Linked DNA regions of Homo sapiens: regions 1, 2 and 4 are each linked to region 3. The links are contacts of gene promoters, found by promoter capture Hi-C in human tissues and cell types (Jung and others, 2019). All regions are on one chromosome and are shown on one strand. Each heading gives the region's core, a stretch centred on a gene start or on the middle of the fragment in contact. The rest is flanking DNA. Distances are from core to core; before and after follow the strand shown. Region 1 holds the start of WNT11 (Wnt family member 11). Region 2 overlaps UVRAG (UV radiation resistance associated). Region 3 holds the start of UVRAG (UV radiation resistance associated). Region 4 overlaps UVRAG (UV radiation resistance associated).

Region 1 (3,200 bases), core at 164-2,663, 390 kb after region 3:
ACATGCATACACAGATCGTTGTTATTCTTAAACTCCACCCCTTTTCCCACCTCCCCCTCTATCTTAAACTCTAGCAAGACTTTAATCCCCTATTGCTAGACTATCAGTTTCTCATAGGAGTGCAGTATGATCTAACTTACATGACCCAAGCTCTCGGAGCAGCGTCTGGGGCACTTAGGAGTAGGCTCTTGTGGTGCCTGGTTTCTCCAGGTCTCCCCGCATGCGCTGTTCGGCCTCCAGGCTTCTGCTCGTGCTGTGCCTCCCGCCTAGGACGCCTGCTTTGCACTCCGTCTCTGACCATCCAAATCCTCCCTGTCCTTCCAATCCTGGCCTATGCATCTCCCTTAGATAGAACTGATCACTCCTCCTCTGGGCTGCCATGCTCCCTCTGCTAGGACACAGACCATAGTCCACTTTGTATTTCTATATGTCCATCTCCCCCAAGAGCCTGGGGGCTTATTTAAGGCACACAATGAGTTGTACCCATTTCTGTGGCAGCCTGACTTTGCAGTGGGGACAGAGGACATGGACGTCAGGTTTAGCCAGCCGTCCATCCCACCACAGGCCAGCGTGGGGGCTTGCGTGCATCATGCCCTTTGCAGGGTCTCGGTGTTCCCACTGTGGAGCAGGGATGATGGCAGTGACCCCACAGGACTCTTATGGGCGGCAAATGACACCCAAGCCCACTGCAAGGCCTCTGACGCTCCTTCAGCCAATCCTCTCCTTCCCTGGACCTTAGTATCCTTATCTGTAAAATGGTGGCGGTGGATGAGAGAGCTTGGACTCGCTGATCGGAGGTCCCTGCCAGCTGGAACAGTGCTGGGTACCCCATTGCAAAAGGAAGGTGGCTGGTTTCTCACAGAACTCCTCAGGGACAGCTGGGAAAAGCTAGTGCCCAGGGCTGGGAGATTGCTGAGACCAGGCTTCTTGTAAACAAGAAAGGCAGGAAGACGGGGTTCCCTCCTCGAATCGTCAATTAATCAATAACTTGGCCTGAGAAGGGGCAGGGCCAGTGACCTCCAGACTGTTTGCTGGCGGCGCAGCCACTATCACCCTGTCTTCCAACTAATTCACAAACCCTTTGCAGCGCCCTCCCCAGCCCCCACAACCTGCCCCCTGCTGTCTTATCTGCAGGCTCCCTGCCCTGGCCCCAGATTCCAGACCCTTGTCCTGTCCTGGACTTTCCCTCTCAGGGAGCCCCTCTGCCCACAGCGTCCTCTCCATTGCCCGAACCAGCCAACTCCCAGCAGCGCTTCAGTCACCAGAGGCACAGCCTCGGAAAAGCTTCCCGGTGTCTCACATCTGTGTCCCCACCAGGTGGGCTTCCTTCCTCTAGGCCTCCAGATTCCCGCTCTGGTTTCTCCTCGGGCACTTGGACACTTGTGGAGTTATTTACAGCCTGGGCTTATCTCTCTCAACTTAGAGCGCAGCTCCTCCGGGAAGGGGCTGGTGTTTACTCCTCTCTTCACCACCCCCAGCCCCCTGAGCAGGCACTCCCTTCAGCTCGGCACCAAGCCTCTCTCTCCCTCCTACCCCTGCGTGAATAATTTCTATCTAAAGGAATGCCCTGCACATGTGCACAGTGGCATCTGACAGCTTCTGAGGTCCTTTCAGGAGCCTCTTCTCATCTGATTTGAGGGAGGTGGGGAGTCTCACCCTCCCGTGACAGAGGAGGACAAGGAGGCCCCAAGAAGTAGAGTGACACTTTCCCAAGGTCGCCCAGGTGGAGGGGTCAGGAGTGTCTCAGCGGAACTCCCGCTAGGGTCAAGGAGACTGACGGACAAGGACCGCTCCTGGGCTGGCCGCTCTGGATTGCGCCCCCTGAACAGAATGTCTTTTTCCATCTGCCCCTGCGGAGGTGGCCAGAAACTCCGTGGCCCTTGCGCCACCGTCAGCTGCACAGGACCAGGCGCTTCCATTGTGGTCCACGCCCGTCTCACTCCCTTTTCGCAAGCCTGCGGGAGGCAGGGACATTTTACAGAGGAGGAAACAGAGGCTGAGGGATGACTTGCCCACGACCGCCAAGCCAGCTTAGGCTCCCGGGTCTTGGTGCGCTCGCCCCATCCAGGGGACCCCAAAACGCCCTCCGCCGCCCCAGTCCCTGGCCTGTGCGCGTGGACGCGGGGTCCCTACTCACAGCCACTTGATGCCATAGCACACGCCGGTCTGGAGCGCCAGGGCGAAGAGCAGCGCCTCGCAGACCTGCGGCCGCGCCCTCATCGTCGCGCGGCGGGCGCGCCCGGGGTCACACCCAGGAGGAGCCGCGCCGAAGTCCTCCGCCTGCACGGCCGCCGCTGGTCCTGCACGCCGCCTGCAGCCGGGGAGAGCGGAGGCGGCGGGTTAAGGCGGCGCGCGGGCGGGGGAGGCGTTTTATTCAAATTACAAAGGAGGGGTCGGGGCCCGGGGAGGCCGAGCGCGGCGGGCGTCCCCTCCCGCTCCGCCCGGCCGGGGGACGCGTCCCGCGCCTGGCTCGAATTAGGCGCGGCCGAAGGCGTGTCTCCCAGCGTGGCCCCGGGCCCCAACGCGCCTTCGAGCCCCTCTGGCCGGGGCAGCCGGAAGGAGGGACAGGAGGCGGCAGAACCGGAGACCCAGGAGAGACCGGGCAGACACAGCGAGAGGGAGAAGGACGCTCAGAGGACAAGGCTGAGAGCCACGGAGACAGAGGGGGAAACCCGGACAGACGCAACCTGGGACGGAAAGGAGAGGAATGAGGAATCAGGAGTCCAGGCGAGGCAGCAGAGTCGAGGACCCGGAGCTGGGGCTTATCCCTGCAATATTGAGCATTAGTTAATAGGGCCTCGGCAATTCTCCTTCCCAAACGTGTTTCAGTTTACCTCCTCAGTAAGCTGGGGCAATTCGGGCACAATTCCGCTTTTATAAAGAACGTTCCCTGGCCGGGCAGGGTGGCTCACGCCTGTAATCCCAGCACTTTGGGAGGTCGAGGCGGGCGGGTCACCTGAGGTCAGGAGCTCGAGACCAGCCTGCCCAACATGGCAAAACCCCGTCTCTACTACGAATACAAAAAATTAGCCGGGCGTGGTGGCGGGCGCCTGTAATCCCAGCTACTCGGGAGGCTGAGGCAGGAGAACCGCTTGAACCCGGGAGGCGGAGGTTGCAGCGAGCGGAGATTGCGCCACTGCACTCTAGCCTGGGCGACAAGAGCGAAACTCCGTCTCAAACAAACAGACAAACAAAAAAAG
Region 2 (3,596 bases), core at 998-3,497, 280 kb after region 3:
ACTGAAGGTGTGTGTGCGTGCTAAAGTGAGGTCACAGTCAAGGATGCTGTAGAAAAGGAGTCTGCTCTGTGGAACCGTAAAACCCGAATGCCTTTTAAGTTATGCTCTACTCCATAGAATTCTGTGCCTAACCAGGCCTCTTGCTGTCATCTGGGTGGAAATCTTGCATCAGATTTTGCCACCAGAGCCTGTTCCACAAGCAAATACCCTGAGGCGCCCCTTCCTTGAGTCAGCAGTTTCAGCTGGGACCTTAACCCGGGATTTGGAAGTCCTGTTGAATGCAGTGAGACAGGCCTCATCCAAATGAAGCCTTTGCTGCTGCTCCAAGGACCTCAAGGGCATCCTCGCCCAAACTGAGGCCTCCAGACATGTTGAGGCAGAGCTTGTTAGCCCCTTGCAAACTTCCTGGTAGCCATAGCACTCTTTCCTTCTCCTTCCCTTAACTGAAGCGTGCAACCCCTTCTGTTAGAGGCTTGTTTTCTGGCACTCCGCAAGTGCAAGATGGTGATGGAGGTGGAGAGTAGAATAGGAAGTTTCTCCATGTCTCCAGAACATTGCGTTTCCCTCCTTGTGTAAAACCATCATCCTTCTTTGAGCCTGTATAACTGCTCGACCCTCTGTCACACCTCGTCACTGTCATCAGGCATGCTCATGACTTCTCTGGGGCACCTGGAATTCAGAACCTTGCTTAAAATTTTCCTCTCTAGGCTGCTGCTCCTCTAGTAACCTACATTACTCTCTCTCCTCCCTGTCTCCACCAGGCCACACCACGTGCTGTTTCTCACGTTCTCTCGTGCTTCTGGGGATTTGCACATGCAGTTTCCTCTCTCTGGAATACTGTGCCTCCCTGCCCTTTCACTCACTGAAATCCAGCTAGTATGCCACAGTCCAGACAGGTTATCACTTCTTTTCTGAACCTTCTAGTCTCACTGAGACTTAGGTGTTCCTTCTCTGCGTTCCTGTATATTCCTCTGATGTGGTCCTTACTCATTTTTAATGTGTTCTTTACTCGTTTTTACTGTACTTATGTTTCTGATTTTTAAATGTCTTTCTATTATATTATGGAACTGCCTCTTCCTTATCTTTGTTACCTCATAGAAGGGGTTCAATATCTATTGATTGAATGAATATATGCTTCTAGGTGCTTGTCTTCTTTGGGCCTATACAAGACTGAAGGTGGAACAAAAAGAAATAGTGTTGTTACCATAGCTAGTTTATATAGCTAGTTGAAATTCTATTTGAAGTGTATATATTCATTCTGTTAAACATATATATGGATGAACTTAGGTTCAAAATGTAAGTCTACTCCTTACCGCCTATAGTTTTATATCCTCTACCTGATAACCCTGCCACTATCATTCCATTTTTGTTGTTCTATCCATTTTCTAACCCTATTACTTTAATCTACTTTCATCCACAGAAATTTGGCATTTCTTATCTTCAAAACGCTGTGGATCTTATCGTTCATCTCGGATGGTTTTTGTTTGTTTGTTTGTTTTTTTGTTTTTTTGGTGAGTCTTATCTCTTCTAGACACGCTTGAATCAGTTGAGATCCAAAATAGCAACATATAGTCTTAACTGAAAGAAGTTAGAAAGAAAAATTAATAATAAATTAAGTAGAAAAATAAGGTATAGCATTAATGGTTTAGTTTAAGAAACAGTGTCCTTAGGAATAGCTACTGAGGGAAAAGGAAGATAACTAACATTTGTAAGATACTTAGAACTCACAGACTGTGTCGGGAGTTTTCCAAAAATTACTTTAATTAATCCACACAATAATTCTGTCAAGCAGGTGTTGTTATATGAGCCAGAGGCTCAGGCGGGGGTAAGAGACTTGCCCAAGGTCATACAGAGAGTAACTCGCAAACCTAGATGCCAACCAAAGACCCTTTCATTTTGTTGTTCCTTCTCCTGTACCATCTCATATATTTTAAAATGGCTTTTTATTAGATTGTTTTTCAGTCAAGAATTTTTGGAGTTAGCTAGGAAGTTAATGTGTAAGTGGCAGTTTGAAGATAGAAGACCACATCATTGTTTAATAAGTGTGGCACAGTCCTTGGAAAAGCTGATTGATTTGATGGGGGTAGTTTTGTATCATAATGTGCTCAAAGATGAATAGCACAAAGAGTAATATTTAAATACCAAATGGAGCCCTCATTTACCAGATCCTTGATGGAAATTTTAATACACCTAAAACAAATTTATGCTGATTTTTTTCGTACCCCCAACACAGTTGTCCAAAATTGTTCATGCCTGCATAGGTGATTCACACATTATATAAAATTCATTTTCAAAGCACCTTATGCAAACAAAATTGTATTCCTGCTCTGTTGTTCGAAATTAAATAAAATGGTTCCTCAGCCAGTCCACTACTCCCAGACATGCATCCACACACGTTCATCATACATGCTTACCTGCCTCTGAACTTTGCTTAGAGTCTTTCTAAGTCTCCACTCACTGGCCTCCTTTCCCAGTTGTTAATGCATTCAGCTCATCTTCTTTCAGATAATGGCTTAGGTCCTAACACCTCAAGAAAGCTTTTCCAACAAGGATGTATTCATCAAATAAGGAAATGTGGATTTCACCCTTGCAATTTGCAGTGCAGTTCCCCCAAAAAAGTCTATTAACTACCACACACTTGGCATGATATTAGCTGCTGGGCATTTAACAGTAAGTAAAATAAATTCTCTGTCATTGAAGCATTTACAGTCGTCTTGTAGGTCTTGTGTAGGGATCATAGGAGCAAATTATTTTCTTGTTCTGTGCCTCCATTTTTTCATCTGTAATACGAGGAAAATAACAGTACCTGCTTTGTTAGGGTTCTTATGATAATTGAATGAATTAATATTTGTAAAGTACTTAAAACAGGGCCTAATCAATAGAAAATGCTTTATTTACTAAAACAAGACTAAACTTTGGAATAAGTGTTCTAGTTCTAAAAAGATCCTATTTGTATGTTAAGTAGGATTATAGTAAATGTATAGGTTAGTTTGTAGAGAAATGTCATCTTTATAGTAACAGGTCTTCCTATTCAAGAATAGGATATGAGTTTCCACTTACTAATATCTTCTTTTACATCCCTCAATAGAATATTAAAGTTTTCTTCATATAGATCTTGCTATTTTGGTTATGTTTATTTCCAGGTATTTTATCTTTGTTTCTGTTTAAAATAGCACCACGTAATATTCTAATTCATTGTTATTTATATAAAGGAAAATCATTGATTTTTGTTTTTCAATTTTGTATTGAAGTATTTTATTGTTTGTGATGAGTTTTCATTTGGTTTGCATGGACTTTCTAAATGTATAATCATATCTATTAAAAATGATCATTTGCCTCTTATTTTCCAATTTTTATAGCTCTAGACTTTTTTTCTTACCTAATTAGTATTAACTGATTATGGTAGTAGTGAACATCTCTGTCTTATGCTGTGATTTTTGACTTGTGACCATTATACTTGAAATGGATTATTATATATAATGTTACGCATTCCCAATTTGATAAACAAAATCACAATGTGTTTTTTAATTGTCCAGTCTGCTTTCCATAAGCTTAAACATCCAAATTTGGCTCTTACCCTGACAAAAATCTTCCAG
Region 3 (3,261 bases), core at 612-3,111:
TGAGGAACCACTCAGTGTGTCAGAACAGGAGACAGTGTGACATCTTTGTGATCCAGCTCTGAGAAAAGATCCAAGGTGTTTTTCAGGCTTCTGAACACCCTGGAAAGATAGTATGCTTACATTTTGTTTAAAAAATTTAAAATGCAACTACTATATGCCAGGTCCTGTGTGGGCACTTTACATATGTTGATTTACTTTAATCCCTACAGCAATCCTATTACTATTTTAAAGCTGAGAGAGGGGAAGTGACTTGCCTTGGGATACATAGCTCAAAGGTGGTAGAGCCAAGATTCCAAAGTGCCTGATTCCTATTGTGTCTGACTCTAAAACACTATGTTCTTTCTGCTATGTTCATCCAGGTGGTGGAAAAATTCAGTCTAGGAGTAAAAAAAGGAAGATCAACATCCTGCAGAATGACTCATGCTATTCATTATAGAAGCAATTGCTGGAGATGCTATCATTGTGGATCACGGAAGTCTTCATGGAAGAGGTGGCATTTGAGCTGGGCCTTCACTGCAAAAAAAAAAAAAAAAAATTTCCTGATTCTCTGTCAGGCACTGGGGATCCAGAGATGAATCAGACAAAGTCCTTTTGCTTGAAGAATTCACAGTATTTTGTGTGTGTGTGGGAAGGAGGGTGGCTGCTTACATGTGTTAAAAGACAATGTGGCCAGGCCTGGTGGCTCATGCCTGTAATCCCAACACTTTGGGAGCCCGAGACTGGAGGATCGCTTGAGCCTGGGAGTTTGAGACTAGTCTGGGAAATATGGCCAGAACCCCATCTTTACAAAAAAATTTTAAAATTAGCTGGGCCTGGTGGCATGTGCCTGTATTCCCAGCTACTTAGGAGGGTGAGGTGGGAGGATCACTTGAGCCCAGGAGGTCGAGGCTGCAATGAGCCGTGATTTTGCCACTGCACTCCAGCCCGGGCGAAAGAATGAGGCACTGTTAAAAAAAATTAATAGAATAATCCAGACCCACGGTAGGGTCAAAATTCCTAACTCAAGGTCCCAGAGAGGCTCAGAGAAGCCTTTTGGAAGAAGGGACTCCTGCCCCAGCTAAGACTGATGGATAAGTAGCAAAGGCTTTCTGGGGACACAGCACAAACAGCCCACCTGAAGCGGTGAATCGGCGTCCTGGGTGCCTGGCACACCTTGTAGCTCAGCTTACTAGCTAGTGGAGTGCGAAGGGGCGTGTACTTGTCGGTTGGAGCTGGTCATGAAAGAGCTCGTGGGACTGCCCGACGGTTCTCAGGTCCCAGTGCATCCTGCGTGGTGGCTCTCTGCTGAACCATAAAGCATTCCTTTTCAATCCCTGCACGCTCACGCCGGGAAAAGACTGCACAAGGGGCCTGCCAAGGCAGACAAGCGATCGCCACCCAGCTGGCTTCCGAGGGTCCCCGCCCTCCACCGGAGGCCTGTTACCACGGCAACCAGTGAGGGCGGAAGTGGCTCAGAAGACCGGTTCTCCCTAATCAGGTGACTCTCCCGCCTCCTGCACGTGACACCGGAGCCCAGAAGCGCGCTCTACCTAATCAAGACCCCACCCCTCTTTCCCTTTACTGACAATTGACAGCGACCTCTTGCAATGGCCCTTCCGCCTCCACCAGGAGACTCTGCCCGTTGGTAGTAAAAGAACCAATTAGACTGGGAAAAAAAGAAGCAACGCCCCAGGTTTCACCCCGGCTTGACAGACGCAATTGAGGCCATCCTTGAGTCCCTCCGCCCCCAAGTCCAGTAATGCCAGCGATGGACAGACCTTCTACCCAATAGCACGCCCCTTTTCTGCCGTTGGGTCCCGCCCCCTTGAGGGCTAAGCCAATGAGCGCTCCGGGTCTCAGCGGGGTGGAGGGGTTGCACTGCGGTAATATGGCTCTTCCTTAGCCAGCGGCGGCAACGGCGGCAGCGGCGGCAGCGGCGGCGGCTACTGTCTGGGCTGAGCAGTAGTGCCTCTCGGGTGGCGGGTTTCTAGGCTGCAGGGGCTTGGTAGGTGGTGGCAAGGGGGCGGCGGCGGATGCCGGAAGAGTGCCCGCCCCGCCGCTTGGCGGCCCCTGGATCGAGATGAGCGCCTCCGCGTCGGTCGGGGGCCCCGTCCCCCAGCCACCCCCGGGCCCGGCCGCTGCTCTGCCTCCCGGTTCTGCCGCGCGGGCCCTGCATGTGGAGCTGCCGTCTCAGCAGGTAAGCCCGCGCGGCTCGCAGCACTCGGGAGGGACCCGGGCAGGCCCGCGTGGAGAGCTTGCTGGCTCCGGGCTGACCCCGCGAGCCGGGACACCCAGAGCAGGGACCCGGAGGGCTCGCGGGACTGAGGAAGACTGTCAGGAGGTTTGTGCGGGGAGGGGTCCAGTGATGGCCGAACCTCCGGGAGATCCCGGAGTCCTAGGAGAATCCCGTTACAGGAGATGGGCTTGTTAAGGGACAAGCAGCCAGCCAGCTCAAGTCCCTGGGGCCCCGGCCCGAGGCCGCCTCCCCCAACGCAGGGAGCCGGGGATTGCCCCGCGCAGACCCTCTCCCTCGTTCCGCCCAGGAAGGGACCCGGGGAACCCCCTGTGTCCCACGGGCCATAGTGAAAGCACTTTTCCTTTCTTTCCCCACCTGGCCATCCCCGCTTACGGAGAAACCAGTTTGTACTCTTCGTGCAAGAGCCCTGGAGGAGACTTTAGGGTGTCTACCATTTGCTTTAATCTCCCCTGATTATTAAGTATTCGGCCTCTTTAGAGAAATGTATTCAAGACTTGGGGGTTTCCTTCCTAATTCTCCGAGTCCCAAGGAACGCATCTTAATAATTAGGAGGACTTTTTCCTTCTTCATTCCCTTCAGTGAGTCTCTGTGGAAGGAGGATTTGATGTATATATTCATGTGTTCCTCCATCCTTTAGGAAGGGCTTTGAGGACTTCTTGGCTCTGCGTTGTAGGAAGATAAGAAGGGGGAAACACTGACTTTGGAGATGTGACAAAACTCTTTGTTTCACTCACATATCTGTAGAGTACTTCCCTCCTTATATCGGTTGCCTTCCTTCTGTCCCCCAAGGGGAGATTTTGCAGGAATCTTAGCATTAAAGAGACCTAAAGAATACCTTTCACCCTCTCCCTTTATTCCTCCTGCCAAGAAGAGGATCTAGAGAAACTGTCATTTACTGAGAACTTACCGTGTTGGATTTGTGCAAAGGGCTCAGTGGCCATTAGTTCACTGAATTTTCACAACTCTGTGAGATAGCTGTTTTTATTACCCCCATTTGGCAGTTGAGGAAACTGAGGCTTGTCCAG
Region 4 (3,162 bases), core at 662-3,161, 320 kb after region 3:
CATATTTGAATAAGGGGGTAAATCAATTAATTTGTTTTATACTCTGCCTCCTTTAGGAGTATAGGGGACTACAAAAGATAAGGTTACCAAGATGTCATCTCTAGAGTCCCAGTCTCTTACTAAACAGTAATTAAATTGCGGCAAATTGCAACTCAAACACTTCTGCCCAAGGCCTCCAGCATCTCTGAAAATGGTGGCAGAGCTATCCATTTTTCTTTTAAAGTAACAAACAACTAAACCCTCACAGTTTGGTTCAGTGAGAGTTTATTAGAGAGCTGATGGTAGGTCAGTGTTAGTAGTATCTTTCAAAGACTTCATCTCACAGATTCTGTCACTGGCCCTGGGAGTCTAATGCATCCTTTAGCTCCCTTCCAAGTCTAGTTTTTAAACTCTGAAAGCATTCTCTGACCAGGGTTTTAATTTCCCTATCGAGTTCCTTCTGGGGGCTGGGTTCTGTGAGATTGTTGTTCCTCTGGTTTCCCTGGCAAAGGCAGAGGTTTTGGGTTTTTTTGTTTTTTTTTTTCATTTTTTCCCTGGTTTTCAGCATAAACAGTTTATTATTCCCAAGTATCAAGTGTTGTCCAGATACTCCGAGGGGTCCCCAGGTATCATTCCTGGCATCTCTTTCCTGTTCTTTCCATGTTCTCGTGTAGGATGTTACTTAAGCCCTATATAAATGACATCAAGATGGGCTATGTCTGTTTCTACAGACCATTTTACAGTCCTCATAATGTTGGTTGCCTGACTGTGATTTTACTACATTAATTTGTATGATGATTTCTTAAAGTGAAAGCTGATGAGTGAAGTGGTTGACTTGACCCCTCCCAGGACCTCTCTTTATCTCCGTGGAGGATCACTGTGTATTCCCTGATCCCATGGAGCTCAGCCTGGAGCCTGAGCTGGCCTCCAGATGGGCTCTCGGCAATAGGCACCCCCTCATCCTCTGTCCACTGGCCCAAGCTGGGCCATGGAGGCCTGATGGCCAAGACCTCACATCACAAAGCCTGGTGAACTGGATTTCTTCAGCTTGCTTATTTTGTCTTTTGCCTGTGGAACTTTCTCTTTCACCAATTCATCTTTCCATCACTACTTGGTTTAAATAAAATCCAAAGGCTGCCTTGTTCAGTTATACCTTTTTATACTCTGTTTTTATTTAGACAGACTTTGGTAGGAAACCTTCCAAGCAAAGCCCCGGGGGAAAAGTGACCATTGGCACAGATTTCAGCCTGTGCTTTTGGCCCAATATTGTTTCTATTTTTATTTTGTTTCATGTTTTTGTTAACATCCAGGGCAAAGATTAAGTACTTACACTTATCTGGTAATGGTGAGAGGCCTTTGGATTGCTTGCCTGTGGCCTGGAGAATGCATGCTTAAAACTATTAACCCCCAGCTACCTCCTGGGAGATAAGATCTAGCTGTTAAATTTGGCTTTCCCTAAAGGAGGTTCTGAGCTCCTACTTGATCTGAGAGAGGGAAAGAAGAAGGATAAATCCCAACCTTTGCTGAATTTTGAAAAAAGGATAGTAGCTTAATTTATGAAGGTTGTTTTTTTGAAAAAACTAACTTTATGTCATAATTTCTTAGCTGCCAAAAGACGTAATTCTACCTCAGCTTTGCCTTGGCAACCCGCTTTTGGCACTCTGTGCAAGCCTGTCGTTGCTCTGCATTATTTAAGCAGTAATCTTTAAGAAGGTGAGAAACTATTATTGCTTTTTAACACAGTTGACATGATATTGGCGCAGACTAGTACCTAGAGCTTCAAACATTTCTGGTGGCCGTAAACCAACTTAAACACCTCCATGTAGAGGTCTCACTGCCATGAGGTCATAGATTGCTACAAGGAGGGAGAAAGAAGAAGATCAAATGTTGTTTAAAAGTCTTTTTTTTTCTTTTTAAATATTCTTATTCCACTGAGTTGTAGCTGTAGATTTTGGCCGGGAGCCAGACAATCAAGATTTAGTATTTTGACCAGCTGTGATCTAGTAATGTCCCTCAGAGGAAACATTTTGTAGGGAGGGAAAGACACATATTTGAGACTGTGAATTGTACTCTGTCCTCATACTTTACAGTGTGGGACCTGGTTGTAGACAGATAAAACAAGTACAAGTGAATCTGAAAGAGAATTAGGAAAAAAAAAAGTGTTTCAAATTGTTAAAGCCTCACCCCAGCTTCAAGAACTCTCTTGATGTGGTAAATCTTTACATGCTTTCTTTATTTCATTTTTCCTGTAAGTTTCCACATTTACATCAGTTCGTGGCAGAATTTATTTCTGCTCATAGCTGATGCTTAGAATGCCTAACAGTATAAGTCTTAGAAAGTCAAAAGAGCAACACAAACTTAATGTAGGCAGGAAGAGAAGAGAAGGAAAATATACCAATCCACTTAACCTAAAAATTTTTCTCATTCTCACCCCATCCTCAAGTAGAAGTAGAGATCAAATGTAGATGTTTTGGTGACAACAAAAAACTTAAGATCCTAGGGACTGGGAGAGAGAAGGAAATTAACAATTAGGTAGACCGGCTTGGTTAAATCACATCTTTCTACCTAGTGGCTTCATGACCTTTGGTCAAGTTACCTAACCTCTGTGCTTCAGTTTCTTCATCTGTAAAATGAGGATGATGTTTGTAATACTTCACAGAGATGTCATAAGGATTAAATGAGACCATGTATAAAGCTGTTAACAGAGTGCTTAATCCATAGCGCTTTATAAATTTTAGTTGCCGTTTTATTATTATTAATAATTTATTGGGTACTTATTCATTGTACTAGGAATTTTACTTGTATATCTCATTTAATCCTTACTGCAGTAACTATTGGTAGCTATAACCATTTCACAGAAGAGGACACCTAGGTTGGGAGCAGTGAGGTGCATCATCAGTGTCTCGTGTTTCCTAACGATGGAGCTACATGTGGAGCTCTGGAATATTACCTATGGGAGATGTGGAAATGGGAATCACATTTTGGACTGGTGCTTTCTTAACTTGTTTTCTCTTTCCCAATCTCTTTTCTGTAAAAGGAGGCTACAGCTTCAGGCAGTAAAACCAAGAGGAAGAGGAGGGAAATGATGGGGGCAAGGATGGTGGAGTAGAGGAAACTGGGCTCTACCAGTTCCTGGGTTGGCTTCATGGCAAGGTATTTGCATGGCAAGGTATTTATATAATG

The links. The method cuts DNA at HindIII sites, captures the fragments that hold promoters and counts their contacts. A contact is called where the count stands out against the background at its distance.
Region 1: a contact is called between a fragment that was not itself captured here and the fragment with the promoter of UVRAG in region 3, in 1 of the 25 tissues and cell types used here (dorsolateral prefrontal cortex).
Region 2: a contact is called between a fragment that was not itself captured here and the fragment with the promoter of UVRAG in region 3, in 1 of the 25 tissues and cell types used here (dorsolateral prefrontal cortex).
Region 4: a fragment that was not itself captured here is called in contact with the fragment with the promoter of UVRAG in region 3 in 1 of the 25 tissues and cell types used here (dorsolateral prefrontal cortex).

What each region holds. Positions count from the first base shown.
Region 1 is chr11:76,204,188-76,207,387 of GRCh38, forward strand. It overlaps WNT11 (Wnt family member 11), which reads right to left and starts at 2,315. Exons shown (of 5, transcript NM_004626.3): 1 at 2,138-2,315. The coding sequence starts at 2,220. RefSeq lists a silencer at 2,228-2,467 and an enhancer at 2,772-3,200. The HindIII fragment of the contact is 7,202 bases long and covers 1-3,200 here.
Region 2 is chr11:76,096,566-76,100,161 of GRCh38, forward strand. The region is part of intron 13 of UVRAG (UV radiation resistance associated); the gene reads left to right. Among named protein-coding and RNA genes, the nearest start is that of WNT11, 110 kb to the right of the region's middle. The HindIII fragment of the contact is 3,716 bases long and covers 390-3,596 here.
Region 3 is chr11:75,813,349-75,816,609 of GRCh38, forward strand. It overlaps UVRAG (UV radiation resistance associated), which reads left to right and starts at 1,862. Exons shown (of 15, transcript NM_003369.4): 1 at 1,862-2,176. The coding sequence starts at 2,060. It overlaps UVRAG-DT (UVRAG divergent transcript), which reads right to left and starts at 1,449. Exons shown (of 2, transcript NR_144531.1): 1 at 1,115-1,449; 2 at 166-513. RefSeq lists enhancers at 1-1,172, 1,096-1,525, 1,396-1,690 and a silencer at 1,986-2,185. The HindIII fragment of the contact is 17,046 bases long and covers 1-3,261 here.
Region 4 is chr11:76,130,424-76,133,585 of GRCh38, forward strand. The region is part of intron 14 of UVRAG (UV radiation resistance associated); the gene reads left to right. Among named protein-coding and RNA genes, the nearest start is that of WNT11, 74 kb to the right of the region's middle. The HindIII fragment of the contact is 7,935 bases long and covers 1-3,162 here.